Linked DNA regions of Homo sapiens: all the other regions are linked to region 2. The links are contacts of gene promoters, found by promoter capture Hi-C in blood cells and fetal thymus (Javierre and others, 2016). All regions are on one chromosome and are shown on one strand. The core of a region is centred on a gene start or on the middle of the fragment in contact, and the rest is flanking DNA. Distances in the headings are between cores, read along the strand shown. Region 1 overlaps LOC107985251 (a long non-coding RNA gene). Region 2 holds the start of CR2 (complement C3d receptor 2). Region 3 overlaps LOC107985251 (a long non-coding RNA gene). Region 4 has its middle 16 kb from the start of C1orf116. Region 5 overlaps PFKFB2 (6-phosphofructo-2-kinase/fructose-2,6-biphosphatase 2). Region 6 holds the start of YOD1 (YOD1 deubiquitinase). Region 7 overlaps C4BPA (complement component 4 binding protein alpha).

Region 1 (2,700 bases), core at 130-2,629, 280 kb after region 2:
ATCATAAAAAGAGCTAAAAGTAAATAAATACCAAGTAAATACCAGGTAAAAAAAATGGAAAAAAATTTAAAATCAATTCAAAAGGAGGGAAAAAAAAGAATGTAAAACAAAAAACGTATATAGCAAATAGATGGTAGATATAAATTCAATTATATTAATTATTACACTAACTGTACACTGACAAGTGCTCTAATTAAATAATGAAAATTGTCAAGTAGGATTAAAATATCCAACTCTATCCTGCTTCCAAGATACACTTAAAATATACAATTACAGAAAGTACAAAAACAAAAGACTAAAAGAGGATAAACCATGTAAACACTAACTCAGATAAAGATGTCAGAACTATATTAATGTAAAAGTAGAATTTTAAAGATAAAACAGTTATAGTAATAGAGTCATTTTATAATGATAAAAAGTGAAATTTATCAGGAAAATATATCATTCTAAATTTGTATGCATCTAGCAATGTAGTCTCAAAATATACAAAGCAAAAAATGATTTGAAAAAACTAAAAAGATGGCCACGTGTGGTGGCTCACACCAGTAATCCCAGCACTTTGGGAGGCCGAGGTGAGTGAATTTCTTGAGTCCAGGAGTTTGAGACCAGTCTGGACAACATGACAAAACCCCATCTTTACAAAGAATACAAAAATGAGCCAGGTGTGGTGGTGTATACTTGTAGTCCCAGCTACTGAGTCAGGAGGATGGCTCGAGCCCGGGAAGTTGAGGCTGCATCCAGCCGAGATCATGCCACTGCATTCCAGCCTGGGTGACAGAGCAAGACCCTGTCTCAAAACAAGCAAGCAAGCAAACAAACAAAAACTCTGAAAAGATAAAAGACAAACAAAACTTTTTTAGTAACCGAGAGAACAAGTAGACAAGAAATAAATATAAATATGGAAATAGATTTGAACAAAACCATTAAAATTAGATCTAATTGATGTATATGTAACATTGCACCCAACAACTGCAAAATATGCATCTTTTCAAGTGCACACAGAACATTTATAAAAATTAACTATATGCTATGAAGTGAAGCAAGTCTCAGCAAATTTCAAGGATTGTGCTCAACATTTTCAATATCAAAGAAGATACACACACATATATACACAAAACAAAGTTCAAGTCTTCTTACTCTCACACTCATTGGAAGATGTCCATGTCAAATTTTCCTGACAAGTCACAGTCAGAGGCTCATCTAAAACAGGTCTATAGCCAGGTTTGCATAGATATTTCAACTCAGTTCCAATTTCAAATATTTCGTGATCACTTAGGTTGTAGTCATTTCTCTCCCAGGAAGCATAGGAAATGTCCGGTAGGACAGTGCAACCATTCACTCATAAAGAAAGCACAAGGGTGAAAGAAATGTGTTACTGGGAATGGCAGAGTGACTCGTGAGCCTGTCACAAAAAAGGGATATAACATAGTCATTCAGCAAAAAATGAGATGGTAAAGATTAAATGGGAATTCCAGAAAAAGACTCGGCAGCACCACTGCCCAATAGACTAGTGTCTATTAAGTGCATGTGTCTACTAAATGCATGTGCCACTGGAGAGGCTGTACTGAGAAGCATGCCATGGTGTAGGAAGGGGACAGTTTCTAGGTGCTGGGTCAACTCCGTAGGAGCTTAGTTTTCCTTTCACATCACTGCACTTTAGAATGGTTGGTCTTCAGGGGAAGAATTAGGATCACTAGAAAGACACAGCAAAAATTTGCTCCAAGATGAGAATGACTTTCTAATCTCATTGCCTAATGGGGAATTAAAATAAGAGGCATTCTTCTTGACATCATGACACTATCATCTGCAACTTCATGCTTTGGCCTCAAACCAAGCCCCATATAACTTTTGCAGCTGGGCCTTTCATCTTGTATTTTTTTTTTCTATTCAACAATATGCTAAAGGTCAGTGTGAATCAAAGAGAGGATATGTGTCTGTCAAATTGTGTATTTATTGAATTTCATTACTACACATTTTGAATGGCACCTAAGTTTATGTGATAGCAGAAGAGACTAGATAAACCACAATGTAGTGGTGGCTTCCACCTCCAATTAACTATGTGAGCTTGTGCCAGTTACTTAATCTTTCTTTTTCGGTTTTCTCACCATTAAAATTGGATAAAAAATAGCAACTTCTTGGAATAGTTGTAAATATTGAATGAGTTAATTGATGTAAAGCACTTAGAACAGTGTTTATAACATAGAAAATGCTCAATAAATGCTAGCAATAAATCATTAATGTTATAAATGATCTGTATGTATTTACAACATGAAGGTCTCAAGACCAATATTGGCCCATAGAGCATTTCTATGCAAATTATAAAAAAGAACTGTCTTAAAGGAATCTTACTTCCATTGTTCAAAAAATTCTCGTAATACATTGATTTTGTTAGACTGAAACACTTTACTATTGTCTCCTGGAAAATTTTTATAGCAAATATATAAGTCTACAATATCTATGAAGTCATTGGTCTCATGACTATATATTTGGAATTCTTCCAATAGCGCTAAGAGATTATTAACAAAAAAATCTTCCTTTTGACAAGAAAAGTACCAATTTATCTTAAAATGATTATTGGGAGTAGAGTTGGCTTGTGCCTGTGAGCATGCCACACCTATATGTCAGGATAGTTTTAGATCCAAATATTGGAACTCCATCGTAGTCCATACTCACTGGATATGCAAGAGGGAACAGAAGGAT
Region 2 (2,700 bases), core at 7-2,506:
ATAAACTAATATGTGCTGTATTCCAGACACCTCAATAAGCTGGATGTCCATAGAAACAATTGGACACCCAGCTTGTTAGCTTAAATGCTGGCTCCATAAAATCAAGTCTGTACAGGAGGCTTATTACTGATATTTAGTAGTAACGACTAACATCCAACTTTCTTTGCTTAGTTTCATCTGTGCTCAGGGCAGCTCAGTGAGGTGGAAGGCCAGTTAATCACTAGTTTCATTTTACAGATGAAGAAACTGAAGATCAGGGAGCTAAATGACTTGCCAAAAGTCACCCAGTTATTGAGGTCTGCACACAGTAAACGTCTTATAAACTAGGAATGCACGGTACCGTGGAGATAATTAGAAACTTAGACCCATCCTGTAGCCAAGAGACGCTAATCTTAATTATAATCTTTCTTTAAAATCAAGCCAATCTGGAGGAAAAAAAGATATAATAAACGGTGAATGAGACCTTTGCGGACGTCCACACCATTACAGTAGGTTAATAACAAGAAGAAAACAATAGTTTTAATCCATGTCTCAAAAATAACTACGGATGGTTAATGTTTAGGATCTCTACCAATATCACATTAGAGTTCAGAAAATCTGAGACCCATGCTTGGGAACCAGGTCTTACTCTTATTTAGGGAAGGGAGCCGAGGTTCTGCCGCTTTTGCTGGGCAAGAGCGCGGTTCGGGTGTACAGAAACAGCCTCACGTGGCTAGCTGGTGCCTCATGCAGTGGGTAGGTTTCCCGTGGCGAGCGGTAGCGCTGACCGCCGGCCAGAGAGCGATGAGCACCTGCAGAATCCTGGGGGCGGGGAGCCCGGCAGGAGACCGCGAGCACCCGCACGCCGCCAGCCACACCGGGCCGACCAGACAGCGCCCCTCTGTGGCGCAGCCTCCAATTCTGGAGGTCCCAGCTCCCGGAGGGGCCAGTGGGGACAATCAGGACCAGGCGGTTTATTGCAGTGGTCCCTCAAAGCTAGCGGGAGGCGGACACGCGTCGAGCACTGCCCCCACCGTCTCGCTTTTGGCCCCCTGCTTTGCATCGCGGCACAGAAACTTTCCCTGCCCGGGACGCGTCCCCACCTCCGTGCTCCCCCTCCCAGCTCACCGAGGACCCCCGGTGCGACGAGAGCCAAGAAAACCCCGAGCAGGCCCGCGGCGCCCATGCCACGGCCGAAGCCCCCGCGGCGGGATGCGTTCCGAGACCCGCGAGCGTCCGGCAGCTCTGGGAGGGCAAGGCTGGAGCAGCAAGCAGCTGTGAGCCAGGAGAGGCGGGCCCTTAAATAGTGTCCGGCACACGTGCTAGTTCTGAGCGCACACCTGCAGGCGGCCTGGGGGCTGACGCGGCGCCGGTGAGGGTGGGACAAGCGGGAGGGACGGCCCGGCACGAGGTGGGCGGGGAGCTCTGAGCCACTCTTTGGCTCAGACTCACCCCTCGTTGCGGTGGCTTCCCCACTTTTTTGACCACGCAACCCACTACACTCACTTGTTTCTCTTACTAGAACTTAAACAAAACTTTCACAAGTTAGTACTCACCCTTAGTAATCTACAATGTTCGTCCTCTGTGCCATGCTGTGTTATGCTAGACTAGGCTAGGCTATCCTATTCTTATTAGAAATCCACCAAACTCATTTCAAAACCTATTAGTGGATTCATCTCCCAGTTTGAAAAAGCAGTGTAAGTTTACTTAGGGAATTTAGGAACAGCAGCCACTTCTGCTCTGTTCTTTATTTTGAAGTAATCTCTACAGAAAAGTTTCAAGAGTACTGCAGAGAATTCCCATATACTTGTCACCCAGATTCTCTGCATGTTAACATTTTGCTGTATTTTCTTTACCATTCTCTATTCTTTCTCTATAGACATATATGTACATATATGTGATTATATAATTATAATTATATAATTATTACTTTGGAACCATCTAGCATTTATTCCTATTCTAAATGGTTCACTAAGGACTTTCTGTTCCATAACTAGAGTGCAATGATCAAAAATAAGAACTTAACATTGACACAAGACTATAAGCTACCATCTGTATTTAAATTTTGACAATCATCTCAATAACCTGTGTTATGGTAAAAACAATAACAACAATAGAAACCAACCTTTGTTTTTCCTGGTCCAGAATCATTTCAGGATCATGTATTGTGTTTGATCATTATGCCTTCCCCCCACCCCCAGTTCTTTATTCTGGAAAAATGTCCTCAGCATTTTTGGTATTGCATGACCTTTACATTTTTGACGAATACACCACAATTATTTTTGGAGAATGACTTTTAAGTCCGTTATCTATTATAATAACAAATTACCCTGAAGGTAGTGGTGTAAAGCAAGAATAAACATTTATGATCTCACAGTTTCTGTGGGTCGGTCAGGTGGTTCTGGCTTGGGATCGCTCAGGAGATTGCAGTTAAGACACCAGCTGGAGGTGCAGTCATCTGAAGGGTTAACTGGGATAGGCGAATCCACATCTAAGATGGCTCACTTACCAGCCTTTGGCTGGAAGCTTCATTCTTCACCACGTGGATTTTGCCATAGGGCTCGCTGCTTGTGTGTTGAGTGTCCTCGTGACATGCCAGCTAGCGTCTCTGAGAACAAGAAAGAAGAAGCCATAATGTCCTTTGTGACCTGTCCTCAGAAATCACAATATGTTAACTCCAGAATATCCAATTGATTGTACAGATCAGCCCTTTTCAGTGTA
Region 3 (2,700 bases), core at 27-2,526, 300 kb after region 2:
AAGCAGATATAACAATTAAAATTTCATGTCTTAAATATAAAAGCCTTCTTTACAAATCATTTAAAAATAAAATTGTCAAACACATGAGGAAACAACACAAACAAGTAAATCAAAACAGAAGAAATATAAATGTGCATGCAGAGTGGTTTATTGAGGCGTTCTTACAGGAACATTGTCTGTAAAGGAAGAATGAGAAGGAAGACAGAAAAGCAAAACTTTGAAGCAGTTGCATCAGAGACTTCAGAGCATCCTTAAAGTTGGACTGGCCCTTCAAAGGTGTCCAGGATTAAGTAAAGCTGGGCTTTTGTACCACTGCACCAACCAATCAATAAATGTGGGTGTCCCAGAGAAAGACTGCCACCTTGAGTGAGGCAGCTCCCCCAAAATATCTGTGTTTGCTAAAATGCAGATTCCCAATCCCCTAATCAAATATATCTGATGAGGCTTCAATGCCTGAATTATTTTTAAAATGCCTGAAGTTATTCTCATGTTCAGCAAATGCAGGAATCACTAGTCTAACAGAGACGAAATCCATTCATTTTTCTATGTATTCCAGGGTCTATCTTTGATTCAAAACAAAGCTTTAGTAGCTGTACCTGGATATCAGTAGCTTGCTTAACTTCTTGTAAAAGCATCAGTCTTAATTTATGTTTTAATAGATCAACTCAGTTCTTATTAAAGGCTGGTATATTTGGCTATTTGAAAAACAACTTTGCTATTGTCCATGTTATTGGCATTGTCCTAATTATGTTATTCACTGTTTCTTATTAAATGGCCCATGGGATAAATTTTAATTTTCTATTTTAAGTTTTTCTATTTTAATTAGTGAAAATAAGCTCCTCTTTCAGAACTGTTTCTTTTTATCAACTAGTAGGAAATATATAATCATTTTTCCTTGACTGAAAATAAACTCAACAAAATTGCTTATAAGTCTAAATTTTAGTGAATTTGCTGCTACTCTTCCTGTACTTCCTCTTCCATAAGTCTCGCTGTAAGCAATCCTTGAGTATTTTGACTTTGCATTTTTATTTTAGCATCATTAAGTTATACGTGCCGTGCCAGTTATCAGTGCATTTCCTCTCACATCCAAACTAACCGTTTATTACAGCTCTGTGATAATGGATGAAATTCCCTTAAGTATTAATCCTTTACAGTGAGAATGATGTTTAATATTCTCATTAGAGGATGCTTGAGGGACATTGCAGGAAGCAAGGATTCTCCTGCTGTTTCCTGCTGCTACATGATGGGTTAGTAAGATATATGGGGGTGGTCTGCCCCAGGCCCTCTTCCCAGAATGCACTATCCCCTGGCAATCTTGCAGTCGTGGACCAGGCTGGCTATCACCTCCCCGTGGTTCTTCTGACGGATACTTCTCCAAGACTCTTGCCACAACAGCACCCCTACTCCCTCTTCATGCCCTCACACCTGGCCACCTACTTGCCTATGTGCTTTCTCTGCCTTGAAGACTTGCTACTGGGGTCACTTTTCTGCACACCTGCCCATCTGGCCACTATCTGTGGTTCCCCTCACAGATAGCTCATGTTCCAGTGACCCCCAACCCTATCTGCAGGCTTATGCATGTAGCCACCAGCTGGAGCTCACCTATATTCTGCCTCTATTCTGGATATTTGGTTTCTACTTGCCCAATGACCACAGACCAGCTCTTGTCCAGGCAACTAGTGAACTTCTCTGGCATCCAGTGGATTGCTACTATACCTTTTTTAATGAAGTCTAAACCCCAGCCTTGGGAAGGGGCACCTCATTGCAGTTTGTCTCCCTTGAGTACCTTGCCTCAGCCCTAGAATACCATACAGAGTTTTCTTAAATTTTATAATTACTTTTTTATCAGAGTTTAGTAATTCTGTATATTAAATTTCCTCTATTTAAATCATTGTATGGTTTCTGTCTCCTGATTGGACCCAGGCTGAGACTCAGACATTTTGGGATAATCTAAAACTTGTAGTAAGCTTCTACTTGGTATTGAGATAGATGGCATATAAAGTTTCTGAGGGAAAATAATTTTATGGAAATAATTTTTAATTACATAATCTATTCAATGTATTTACATTTTGAATAAAGAGTATTATTTTTTAAATAAAGGAGAATTCACTATATCCCTAAATATGCAAATAGACTTGGTATCAGAAGGTCACTTATTGGTTAAAATTGGCAGAAACAGCACTAGGAAGGGTAATTCCTAAATTCAGAGAAATATTAGAAAATAGCATCCCCCTTTTATAGTGCCCATAAATATAAAATGGTAATGGAATCAAAATAGTCTCTCTTTAGTTATAACTTTTTTAGGGCAGAGCCGAGCCTCTAGCTTTCCAATTGCTTTCTCCCCACAATTATTAAACCTGACATAGAAAGAATTCACTTCGTTTTAATTTATTTTCTTGTGGTCAAAGAAGAATATTTGGCAGCAGGGGTTTCGTAGTTGACTTTTCTCAGGCTCAACTAAACTTTAGCACCAGATTCACATTCCAAATAACCTATACATTTTTTACTCCTGGTGTAATTATTCAGCACCACTGTGGGTGAACTTCTGAAGGAAATATATGAACTAGTTAGTCATAGTGTAAAGAAAAACATTTAACTTAAAGCAAGGAGACAAACGCAACTGCTGTGTCTTTTAGGGATAGGAGCAATCATTTCAGGAAAGAAAGTTCTCTCGATGTTGATAGTGCAAAAGTAATGTGG
Region 4 (2,700 bases), core at 160-2,659, 440 kb after region 2:
TATTTTAAATAGCACGTTCTTTTAAATTTGTTCATCTCTGGAATGAATCAGGCATTAGTTATCAGGAGGCAAGAAGTACATTGGATGAGGTCTCTAAATCTCTTCAGGTGTAGGGACCTGTGAATTGCTGGAGTCATGACCACTGTCACAATCATCACTGACTGTTAGCATACACATGTGGTAAAAACAGATTACACTCTAATTCCAGGCTGTCACTCTCTCTTACTCATTACCTAGTTGGATTGTTGTCCTTATCACCACTTGCCACGTATCCAGAATTCAAAATAATGTGAAACAGGCAGAGGCCTGGACCAGGTGAGATTTAGTGGGTCACTTCTTCTCACTCTCAACATGAGGGACTTGGTCTTTCTCCTAGATCCATGCTAGCCCTGAAATGTATGTTTCGGTAAATCCAAACAAGTTAGGAAGATAAACACCTGCCAAAAATAATCAAAATATAGTCTAAAATAAACTAAACCTCAGAGAACTTGAGAACGGAAAGGAAACTTTTAGGTTCTGTAATTCAACCTCCCACCTAAAGAGGAATTATCTCTATAGTTGGAGATACATATGTTTCTTCCTTTCTTTCTATCTACCTATCTATATCTATGGTCAGAAATAAACACACACACATATATATATATGTATATATATATACATGTAGGACCAGGAAGACGGGAGGTTCGGTTTGGGGCATACTGAGTTTGAGGTTGCTGTGGGACTTCTAAGCTGACATGGCCTCTGGCATGTCAACTTAGATAGCTATATCTATATCTATATCTATATCTATATCTATATCTATATCTACCTCCAACTATGTATATATAGAGAGAGATATGGTCAGAAATATAGTTGGATAGATGGATGGAGGCTTGATGGATGGATGGATGGATGAGTGGATAGATGGAAGAAGATAAGAAAGGAGGGAAGAGGAGGGGAGGGAAGAGAGATTGAGAACATACAGTGGCCAAGAGCATAGGCTCAGGAGCCAGGCTGCCAGGGTCTCTGCACTTCAGTTTCCTTTTCGGTGATTACCTTTTGCATCTTTTAACTTTCTTTGTTGTGTGGTTCAGGGAACTTTATGCCGCCCTACAGTTATTGTTTATCTTAAAAATGGAGAGAAAACGAACTTAGATTATAACAGGATGGAACCTCGTAAAGTAAGGCAATAATAATACTTACCCCTTGCAGTTTTTATGAAAATAGAATCAAATGAGATACTACATATAAAAAAAACCATAGCACACTGCTGAATAAATGGTGTCTATTCATATTATTATCATATAGACGTGTAATTCAGATGCCAACTGGGACCCCCATCAGGACTGGTTAATCTTGGCCTGCACCTAGATTCCTCAGAACTGAAACAGTCAAAGCCCTCCTCCAGTTTTAAGAGCCTCCTACAGTTCTGTCCTATCTGCATCTGTGTGTGCTGCTTCGGAGCCTCCCCACACCTGCCTCCTTCCCAATCCACACTCTGCCATCCCTAAGCCACTGTCTCTGTCTCCGCTCACTATTGGTCTAGACCCAAAGCCCAGGCCTTTCACTGATTCCCATGGGAAATCAGGTTTCGTTAAGCATTTTGTTATTTTCTGAGTTTTTTACTGAAGGTCAGTGTGGGGGATGCTGGGGGACCTATCACAACCACATGGCCTCACATCACCTCCCCTTCCACCCTTTCTTTTTCTTTTCCAACTTATAGCACAACCAGCAAATCCTTCTCACCTCCACCCGACACTTGAGGGCTCTTAGGATCTAAGCGTCAACCCCCAGAGACTTTTCAAAAAATTCCTCTTACGTGAAGAGAGTTGCTGCGCCAAACTCTGTACATCTCTACAGATGGAAAGATCATTCTGGTGGCTGGGTTGGGAGGGGACTGAGACAGGCTGGGATGGGTGTGAAGGGAACAGTTAGAAAGCTACTGCTGTAGTCTGGGAGGGAGGCAGTGTGGCACTGTGCAGCTGTGGTGGTGGCAGAAAGAAGAAAAGAAAGAAGGTTTGAAGATGTTCATCACTGACATGATTTGGTGGACCTATTACTGAGGGTGAGGAAGAGGGTGAGGTCATGAGTCATGTTTTGGTTTCATTCCTTCGTGATTGGATGGATACTAATACCACTCACTGAGACATAGACCATGGCGAGAGGCTCAGATCTGGGGGTCCCCTGCATGGGTCTGTGTTTGGACATGTTGAGAGTACAGCGCTCTCTACCTCCTGGGCCTTCATGCCTGAAAGTAGGACTGAGGCTACAGCACAAGTTGACTTGCAACATCAACACCTCCTCCAGCTCACACCAACCCTGCCACACTCTGCTTTAGTGGGTAGGCAGGACTCTGTGAAGGCCTCCTTTGGATTAGTTCCTGGCTCTGTTCAGTTGCTTGGATCTGAGGAAATATTTGTCATCTCCTCTTTGAGTGACTCTCCTGCCCCCGTCCTTTAGGCAGGGGCTCCTGAAGGATCTGTCTTCATGTTCTCTTATTAAAAGCATCAAGCTGGTCCCAGCTCTGAGACTCTACCTTGGCTGTTCCTTCTGCTGGAGTTCTCCGCTCCTCATCTTTACATAGCTAGTTCCTTCTCATCCTTTAAGTCTCAGATTAAATTTCAGATTTTCTGAGAAGCCTTTGCTGAATGCTCAAGACGTACATGAGATATATATTTATGGACGCATCAGGAAATCTTTTCAGTGCTGTGCAGATGGTCG
Region 5 (2,700 bases), core at 29-2,528, 390 kb after region 2:
TTCCTTAGAGCTTGGGCAAACTGGGGTTTAAAAATGAAAATTAAGGGTAAAAAGAAAACACACAGACACACACACACACACACACACTCAACACACACATACACAAAGCCTGCTAACTTGGTCTGTAAGGGACAACGTGCATAACCATGGTCAAAATCCATAAGGTGCTACATAGTTAATATAAACCCAAAAGGAAATGAACTTTAACTGGAGCACCCTGTACATTGCTAAGTACACAAGTTGTGCCCAATGAATATCTGATGGTTGAATGATCACAGCAGAAATGGGTCAAAGTTATCTACTCTTTAACACAGAGCTAGACGCAGTGAGCAAGAACACACCTTGAGCACTTGCCTGACTATGAAACCACAGCCTACGTCCAAATGGGATTTAAGTAAGGAGATAAAATATATGACCTCAGTCATGCCCTTCTAACTCTAAGCCTAGAAAATCCAGTGTGCTGAATAATTACTCACCTGCTTTCCCCGCACCGAGAGGCCAGAGTCACCCCCAATCTTCCCCAAGAGATTGAACTCGCTTTCTCCATGCCGGCAAAGGTAAATGGTGCGAGGCTGGACGTGGATATTCATGAGGTAGTAGACTATCTTGCTCTGGATGTAGTCCTGGACTCTGTTGACTAAAAATCGCTGGCCCACGTTTATCACCTTGATGAAAGAAAGATCCCTGGGACAGGAAAGGAAAAAAAAAATTCCCTAGGTAAGAAGATCTGAGAATAAGAATCAGAGGGAAAAGGATTTCTACAGGGACTTGCAGGCTCACAGCTGCTCTTCCTCCCCTCCTCTGTCACACCCACGTTTATGGAACCAAATGGTAGGAGATTAATTACTCCTTAAAACCAAGATGAAGTACAATTTCCTGAACTTCTAGTAAGTTTGTACCATTTCCTCAGTGCCTGTAGTGTGACAAGTAATGTAGATAAATAGGATAAACAGAATTCAGCCTTCCCATCAGGGGCTAGACTAGGTGACCTGAAGATTTTGCTAAGCCCAAAATTTGGTGAGAAGAATAGGCCCCTTTTGAGGCAGTTAAGACCTGGCCAGAATATGGCACGACGAGCAACGAGGGGAAGGGAAGAGGCAGCAGAAGCACAGACAGAAATGTCTATATACTCCCTGCATCTACCTAATCATGCTTCTCTCAAAGACACTTTCAGACATTGCTTGCTTTGAGGCCAACATGAGATTGTTCTCTTTATAAAAGTCATAAGTGTGGCTGGATGCGGTAGCTCATGCCTGTAATCCTAGCACTTTGGGAGGCCAAGGTGGGTAGATCAGGAGATCAGGAGTTTGAGAACAGCCTGGCCAACATGGTGAATCCCCATCTCTACTAAAAATAAAAAAATTAGCCGGGCGTGGTGGCGGGTGCCTGTAATCCCAGCTACTCAGGAGGCTGAGGCAGGAGAATTGCTTGAACCCAGGAAGGGGGAGGTTGCAGTGAGCCGAGATCGTGCCACTGCACTCCAGCCTGGGCAACAAGAGCGAGAGACTCCATCTCAAAAAAAAAGTCATAAGTGCTTATTTTAAATCAAAAAATCAGAAAAAATGATGGAAGGATGCAAATCACGCATCACCCTACTACCAGAGATAACATATACAAACATACACATGTATATATATGTAGATCTTCTGTATGTTTTTCTAGGTGGGACTTTGTTCCAACTGAAGAATACTTTTATGCCATATCTAGAGGTGGTTTTCAGCCTCTGAATTAAGGGGATTCTGGGAAACCCACTTGAAGGAACTGAAAGGCTCAAAACATTAAACAGACCACTGTATTAAGTGTGCCATGCACATTAAATGTGCCATTTGCTTGGCTGCAGGTCTGTATTATGTGAATAGAGCTGTTAACTGCCCTGAATGCATGCTCTTTCATGAGGCCACATTCTTGCAGATTTCCATGTGTACACCATCTTTCTTCAACATAGACTTGGTTTTGTTATGGCTCATATACCTCACACATGACAAGTTAATCTATAGTCTACACCATACTGCCAACAAATGCTTCCATAGTAACAACAGCTGGCATTGATCAGACATTTCTCTGAGTCAGGCATGTTCTTGAGGGCTTTGCATGTTATATATAGAGAGAGATAGATATAAAAATATGCAATATGTAATATATATGTTATGCTATAATATGCATGATATACACACAAGCATTAATATATGTAAAATATCATATAATATATATAAACTTTAAAAACTGATGACACATCTCCAAAGGGTATCCTACAACACCCCCATTCAGATATGGAGCAGTGATTCTCAACCAGGGATAACTGTGCCCCCCGGGGAACCTCTGACATGTCTGGAGACATTTTGGTTGTCACAGGTTGGAGGTGTTACTGGCATCTAGTGGGCAAAGCCCAGGGAAGCTGCTGAACATCCTACAATGCACAGGACAGGTCCTACAACAAAGAATTACCCAGTTCAAAGTGCCAATAATACTGAGATTGAGGAAATCATGCTCTAGAGACTGGAGAGAAAAAATTGATGATAAAAAACACTTCCAGCCAGGCGCAGTGACTCATACCTGTAATCCCAGCACTTTGGGAGGCCGAGGCGGGTGGATTACTTGAGCTCAGGAGTTCAAGACCAGCCTGGCCAACATGGGGAAACTCTATCTTTACTAAAAAAAAAAAAAAATAGCCGGGCATGGTGGCGCACACCTGTGGTCCCA
Region 6 (2,700 bases), core at 142-2,641, 400 kb after region 2:
TGTGATTGTTTTTGACTGGTCCTTTGACTCACTGACCATTCCTGGCATTCGTTTGCGTTGTGAACTATGATTCTGTTTCTCCTGGTGTAGTCTGGGTGTAGTGTGGAAGCCCCAATTTAATAATTTCCGACCTCACTAAGTGCAAGGTCACATTCCAATCTCCAGACCTTCATTCAGGAACTCCTTCCCCCGCCCTCTTTTCTTGAGCATATATGCTACCCACGCGGAGGGCACCTCACTCGCTCTATAGGTAGCAAGACCCGTTGTCCTTTAGGAATACGGAGGTTTACATCTTCGTTCTGAGGGTGGGGGAAAAATCAGTTGTCACTTTAAAAGAGTTCGCGCTTGCTAAGGTACTAAGGCAGAAGCCGCACCGAAGCGTCGCGATAACTGCAACCACCCGCAACTTCTCGCGATGTTTGGCCCCGCTAAAGGTCGCCATTTTGGAGTCCACCCGGCGCCTGGTTTCCCCGGCGGCGTCTCCCAACAGGCTGCCGGGACCAAAGCTGGCCCCGCGGGTGCCTGGCCTGTGGGCAGCCGGACCGACACGATGTGGCGGCTCCGCTGCAAGGCCAAGGACGGCACCCATGTTTTGCAGGGGCTGTCCAGCCGGACCCGGGTGCGGGAACTCCAGGGCCAAATTGCCGCCATCACCGGGATCGCCCCCGGCGGTCAGCGAATCCTCGTCGGATACCCTCCCGAGTGCCTGGATCTCAGCAATGGGGATACCATTCTGGAAGACTTGCCCATCCAATCTGGTAAGGAATCAGGGCTGGGGCCAGGGAAAGTCCCGGGAGGATGGAGAGGGGCGTGAGAGAGAACAAAACACCAGTCAAGGCAAGGTGGCTGTGAGTCGGCGGGGGGGCTTTGAGGCCAGGGGCGAGGATAGATCAAAGAACAGAGAATGCTGACGGGGGCCAGGGCAAGTGTCTAGCAACTCCTTGTCTTGACACAGGGTTGAAAGGGAACCCAAAGCCTTGAAGACCCCCTTCCCCATTCCGCTTTCTGGTCGGCTTTGAAACTATCCCATTTTGTTTTCCCTCGGCGTCCACAAAAATATAAAGTAGGGCCTATTTTCTCTGTCCTTATGTCTCTTTTTCCCTATATCACCGATGAGATCTCAAGGGTGCAGGATTTTTTTTTTCTTGATTCATTTTTGCAGTCCCCTTCGTAGATACTTCGTTTGACAGGCATACTCATTTTCGAGTTAGCTTTTAAAACACCCACTGAAAGCTCTTTCAATTTCTAACCAGCAGCAGTTATTTCTGTGCCATATCAAAACTTGAACATCAGTGTTTATAATTAAAAGCTTTCAGTTGCTGTATCAAGGATGTTGTAAACACTCTAGAGTAGATAAGTTTCCGGAGAAGGAGAACCCCCTAGCGGCCTACTCTGTAGTGAGCACCTTCTGTAAAATACTGTATAAGGAAAGGAAATTTTGTTTTTGAAATGTATCTTTTTAGGTAAGCTTGAAGTTGTTTACTCCAGACCCCTTCACTAAATTGGGATGCAACCTCAAGTGTTTTTTGTTCTTTTTTCATCTTTATGAAAATTCAGTGAACAAAGATTCTTACTGGTAACTTACTTGCAAAACTGTATTCTCCTTAGTAACCCCAGTTTATGCTTTAACTCCTTCAGTTTGTAATTTACAGACTTGGCTAGAGAACACTCGGTTTCTTCTGTAATTTCTTTGCAGATCGGGATTTGTTTTATTTTTAACAGGTGACATGCTGATCATTGAAGAAGACCAAACCAGGCCCAGAAGTTCACCTGCATTTACTAAACGTGGTGCTTCTAGTTACGTCAGGGAAACTTTGCCTGTGCTTACCAGAACCGTGGTCCCAGCAGACAACTCTTGCCTCTTTACTAGTGTGTACTATGTCGTCGAAGGAGGAGTCTTGAATCCAGCTTGTGCCCCTGAGATGAGACGCCTCATAGCACAAATTGTAGCAAGCGATCCAGACTTCTATAGTGAGGCAATACTGGGAAAAACAAATCAAGAGTACTGTGACTGGATCAAAAGGGATGACACTTGGGGAGGAGCAATAGAGATATCGATTTTGTCCAAGTTTTACCAATGTGAAATATGTGTAGTGGATACACAGACAGTAAGAATTGATCGTTTTGGGGAAGATGCAGGATATACCAAAAGGGTTCTGCTTATTTATGATGGCATCCACTATGATCCACTTCAGCGTAACTTCCCTGATCCAGATACACCTCCTCTGACCATTTTCTCCTCTAATGATGATATTGTTCTTGTACAAGCACTGGAATTAGCAGATGAAGCTAGAAGAAGGAGACAGTTTACTGATGTCAACCGCTTCACCCTGAGATGCATGGTATGTCAGAAAGGATTAACTGGACAAGCAGAAGCAAGGGAACATGCCAAGGAGACAGGCCATACCAACTTTGGAGAAGTGTGACCTATGCATGAATGAGGGTTGAAGCCTACTACCTCACACATCCAGAAGGCTCTGGGTTTTCCAATAAGCTATGGTAACCCTAAAGAACAAAGGATACAATGCTTGAACCATCCTTTTAACTTAAAACCACTAAGACACTGAAATTCCTTGTTAAGATTAAAATTAGTGTGCAAGTTTACAGATGTGTGTCTACAGTGGTAAACTGTACATACATGCCTCTTTCTGCTGGAGTGACAGAATAGGTGATCCTTGCCACCTACTGACACTGACCTGA
Region 7 (2,700 bases), core at 11-2,510, 330 kb after region 2:
AAAATATTGTTTCTGGTTGTTTCAATGGGAACACCTTAGTGTTTCAACAGCATCTTAGTTCTGATTCTTTTCACTTTCCCTTATGGAAGCCATACACAATAAGGAAAACAGAGGATAAAAATGAGAAAATCAACAAAAATGAAACAAACGGAAAAGATAAGAGAAAACTAATAGATATAGGTAACAAGCAAAAGAGAATCAACATAGGCTTAATTGGATAACCTAAAGAAGGAATCCAAGTAGAACAAAATAGCTTTTTAAAAATTTGTTTCAGGCCAGGTGTGGTGGCTTACTCCTGTAATACCAGTACTTTGGGACGCTGAGGCAGGTGAATTCTTTGAGACCAGGAGTTCAAGACCAGCCTGGCCAATATGACAAAACCCCATCTCTATTAAAAATACAAAAATCAGCTGGGCATGGTGCTGCTCTCCTGTAGTCCCAGCTACTTGAGAGGCTGAGGTGGGAGGATTGCTTGAGCCCAGGAAGTTGAGGCTGCAGTGAGCTATGATCGTGCCACTGCACTCCAGCCTGGGCAAAGGGAGTGAGACCTTGACTCAAAAAATATATATATTTCAAGTAAATGTTACTAAAATAAAACAATACGTCAATCTACATATTAAAATTGCACATCACATAGTAGCAAAAAATTAAACCAAGTGATTTCTACCAAAACAACTAAGAGTAAAAGTATTAGGTTTCAAAGATAAAGAATAATAATTTAGATAGTCAAACAAAGATCAAGCCATATGAGAAGAAATTTCAGATCAGTAGTATTCACTAGCAAAAGATAGTGCAGCAGTACCTATAAGACATCCAAGAAAAGAAAGGATGAGCCAAGGACTATATCAAGCCCCATTATCTTCTAGGTATCAATGCCTCAGATATATTATCTGAACCTGCAAGAACTCAAAGAATAATTTTCACTTGGGACTTTTTTTTGGAAACCACCATAGGACAAACTACAGCCAACCAAGAGATGACAATGGCAACTTTAGCCAAAATAAACAAAAATGGTAGCAAACATTGTACATGCAGATCTAAGAAAAAACAAATGTGATTTTAAGTGTGACTGAAGGAAATATAAATGTTATATGCTCAGACAGCACTGAAATAGTATAACTAAGAAAAAATAGAGACAGGGAAGAGAGGGTAAAATAAATTCCCTTATTGCCTGATCATTTGCAAAGTTGAGAATGAAAGCAACCATAGACACATATGAATATTTCACATTAATGTTAAATACAAAATAAACACTAAGATAATACAAATGATACAAATTTACTGGTAGGGAAGATAGAAGGGGTGAAGGAGGGGTAAGAATACAAGATAAGTTTATTGTTGTTTATAACAAGGAACCAATTTAAACTGTCTAAAGATAAAGAGGAATAATGATATTATATAAATTTAAATGTATATAGGTCACCACTAGAAACAAATTTTGAACCTTCCTAAATACCACCATATATTTTTAATAGAAAATAAATATACACATACATATATAACAAAATATGAAATAATATGATAAAACCAAGTCTATAAGTATCACTCACATCAATAAATGTAAACTCCTAATGAAAGAAAAACAGCTTTTAATTGGAGAAAATTCAGCTCTGTTATATACAGGAGACAAACCTAAAAGTGTTTCAGACAGATTAAAAATAAAAGACAGCATAAAATTATACCAAGCAAATTCAAAAGAAAACCAAAGATAATAATTTTAATATCCCATAAGTTGGACATCAGAACCAAGATTATTAAATGACACACAATGGGTACTTTATATGTTAAAGATTTTGATTTTCAGTGAAGAGCTATGAATCTTTATGTAGCAAAATATGTATGTAGCAGCAATTTTAATAAAACAGAAGTATATGAGACAAGAAAAATAATCAAAATATGCTAATTATCATTAAATTATTTTATAATGGTTAAAATAATTATAAAATTATTAATTTACTTTAACTCCTATCTTCATGCTTAAGGTATATAAAGACAAGCATAATAAAATATTCAAAACAACTTATCAAGAAAGTAGATCTGACTGAGAACAGTGGCTCATGCCTGTAATCTCAGCAGTTTGGAAGACCGGGGCAAGAGAATCCATTGAGCCCAGGTGTTCTAGACAAGCATGAGCAACATAACAAGACCTCATCTCTACAAAAGTTTGAACTTTAGCCAGGCATCATGGCACATGCCTGTAGGCCTAGCTACTCAGAAGGCTGAGGCAAGAGGATTGCTTGAGCCAGGGCAGTCCAGGCTACAGTAAGCCAAGACTGCACCACTGCACTCCAGCCTGTGTGATAGAGGGAGAACTTGTCTCAAAAAAAGAAAGTAAATCTGATGTGTATATAGCAAACTCTATATACTACTAATAAAGAAAATCCTTCATTCCAGTGCCTGTTGAAATATTAATGAAAGTTGATTGTATATCATGATGCGCCATAAAACAACTGTAAATTTTAAAACATAAAAATAAGTAACATTCTTGGTTAATCTAGAAGTCTTTTTATTTCTTTTATTTTCTGTTTTTTAAATTTTTTTATTCTTTAGAGATGGGTTTCGCTATGTTGCTCAGGCTGGTCTTGAACTCCTGGGCTCAGGTGATCTTCCCACCTCAACCTCTCAAAGTGTTGGAATTACAGGCGTGAGCCACTGCACCTGGCCCAGTCAGTTTGGAAGTCTTCAGTGGAAGAATGCTTC

Evidence for each region. The method cuts DNA at HindIII sites, captures the fragments that hold promoters and counts their contacts. A CHiCAGO score of 5 or more calls a contact.
Region 1: a fragment that was not itself captured here is called in contact with the fragment with the promoter of CR2 in region 2 in 1 of 17 cell types (naive B cells); the score reaches 6.0 in naive B cells.
Region 3: a fragment that was not itself captured here is called in contact with the fragment with the promoter of CR2 in region 2 in 3 of 17 cell types (endothelial precursors, total CD8 T cells and total B cells); the score reaches 5.7 in endothelial precursors.
Region 4: a contact is called between a fragment that was not itself captured here and the fragment with the promoter of CR2 in region 2, in 5 of 17 cell types (monocytes, M0 macrophages, endothelial precursors and 2 more). The highest score is 8.1, in monocytes.
Region 5: a fragment that was not itself captured here is called in contact with the fragment with the promoter of CR2 in region 2 in 3 of 17 cell types (naive CD4 T cells, naive CD8 T cells and total CD4 T cells); the score reaches 7.5 in naive CD4 T cells.
Region 6: a contact is called between a fragment that was not itself captured here and the fragment with the promoter of CR2 in region 2, in 8 of 17 cell types (naive CD8 T cells, naive CD4 T cells, total B cells and 5 more). The highest score is 14.2, in naive CD8 T cells.
Region 7: a fragment that was not itself captured here is called in contact with the fragment with the promoter of CR2 in region 2 in 2 of 17 cell types (total CD4 T cells and neutrophils); the score reaches 5.7 in total CD4 T cells.

The regions. Positions count from the first base shown.
Region 1 is chr1:207,173,773-207,176,472 of GRCh38, reverse strand. All of the region lies in intron 1 of LOC107985251 (a long non-coding RNA gene), which reads left to right. It also overlaps the pseudogene C4BPAP1. Among named protein-coding and RNA genes, the nearest start is that of LINC02942, 65 kb to the left of the region's middle. The HindIII fragment of the contact is 4,272 bases long and covers 1-2,700 here.
Region 2 is chr1:207,452,884-207,455,583 of GRCh38, reverse strand. CR2 (complement C3d receptor 2) reads right to left here and starts at 1,256. Exons shown (of 20, transcript NM_001006658.3): 1 at 1,108-1,256. The coding sequence starts at 1,165. RefSeq lists silencers at 698-807, 1,188-1,417. The HindIII fragment of the contact is 5,194 bases long and covers 1-2,507 here.
Region 3 is chr1:207,156,806-207,159,505 of GRCh38, reverse strand. All of the region lies in intron 1 of LOC107985251 (a long non-coding RNA gene), which reads left to right. Among named protein-coding and RNA genes, the nearest start is that of C4BPA, 54 kb to the right of the region's middle. The HindIII fragment of the contact is 1,386 bases long and covers 584-1,969 here.
Region 4 is chr1:207,015,335-207,018,034 of GRCh38, reverse strand. No RefSeq gene overlaps it. Among named protein-coding and RNA genes, the nearest start is that of C1orf116, 16 kb to the left of the region's middle. The HindIII fragment of the contact is 3,148 bases long and covers 1-2,700 here.
Region 5 is chr1:207,065,483-207,068,182 of GRCh38, reverse strand. It overlaps PFKFB2 (6-phosphofructo-2-kinase/fructose-2,6-biphosphatase 2), which reads right to left. Exons shown (of 15, transcript NM_006212.2): 9 at 477-684; 10 at 1-20. Among named protein-coding and RNA genes, the nearest start is that of PFKFB2, 14 kb to the right of the region's middle. RefSeq lists a silencer at 428-659. The HindIII fragment of the contact is 7,385 bases long and covers 1-2,700 here.
Region 6 is chr1:207,048,746-207,051,445 of GRCh38, reverse strand. YOD1 (YOD1 deubiquitinase) reads left to right here and starts at 238. Exons shown (of 2, transcript NM_018566.4): 1 at 238-758; 2 at 1,723-2,700. The coding sequence starts at 416. The coding sequence ends at 2,426. It also overlaps a transcript of PFKFB2 not described here. RefSeq lists an enhancer at 104-674. The HindIII fragment of the contact is 159 bases long and covers 1,312-1,470 here.
Region 7 is chr1:207,120,447-207,123,146 of GRCh38, reverse strand. The region is part of intron 4 of C4BPA (complement component 4 binding protein alpha); the gene reads right to left. Among named protein-coding and RNA genes, the nearest start is that of C4BPA, 18 kb to the right of the region's middle. The HindIII fragment of the contact is 3,337 bases long and covers 1-2,700 here.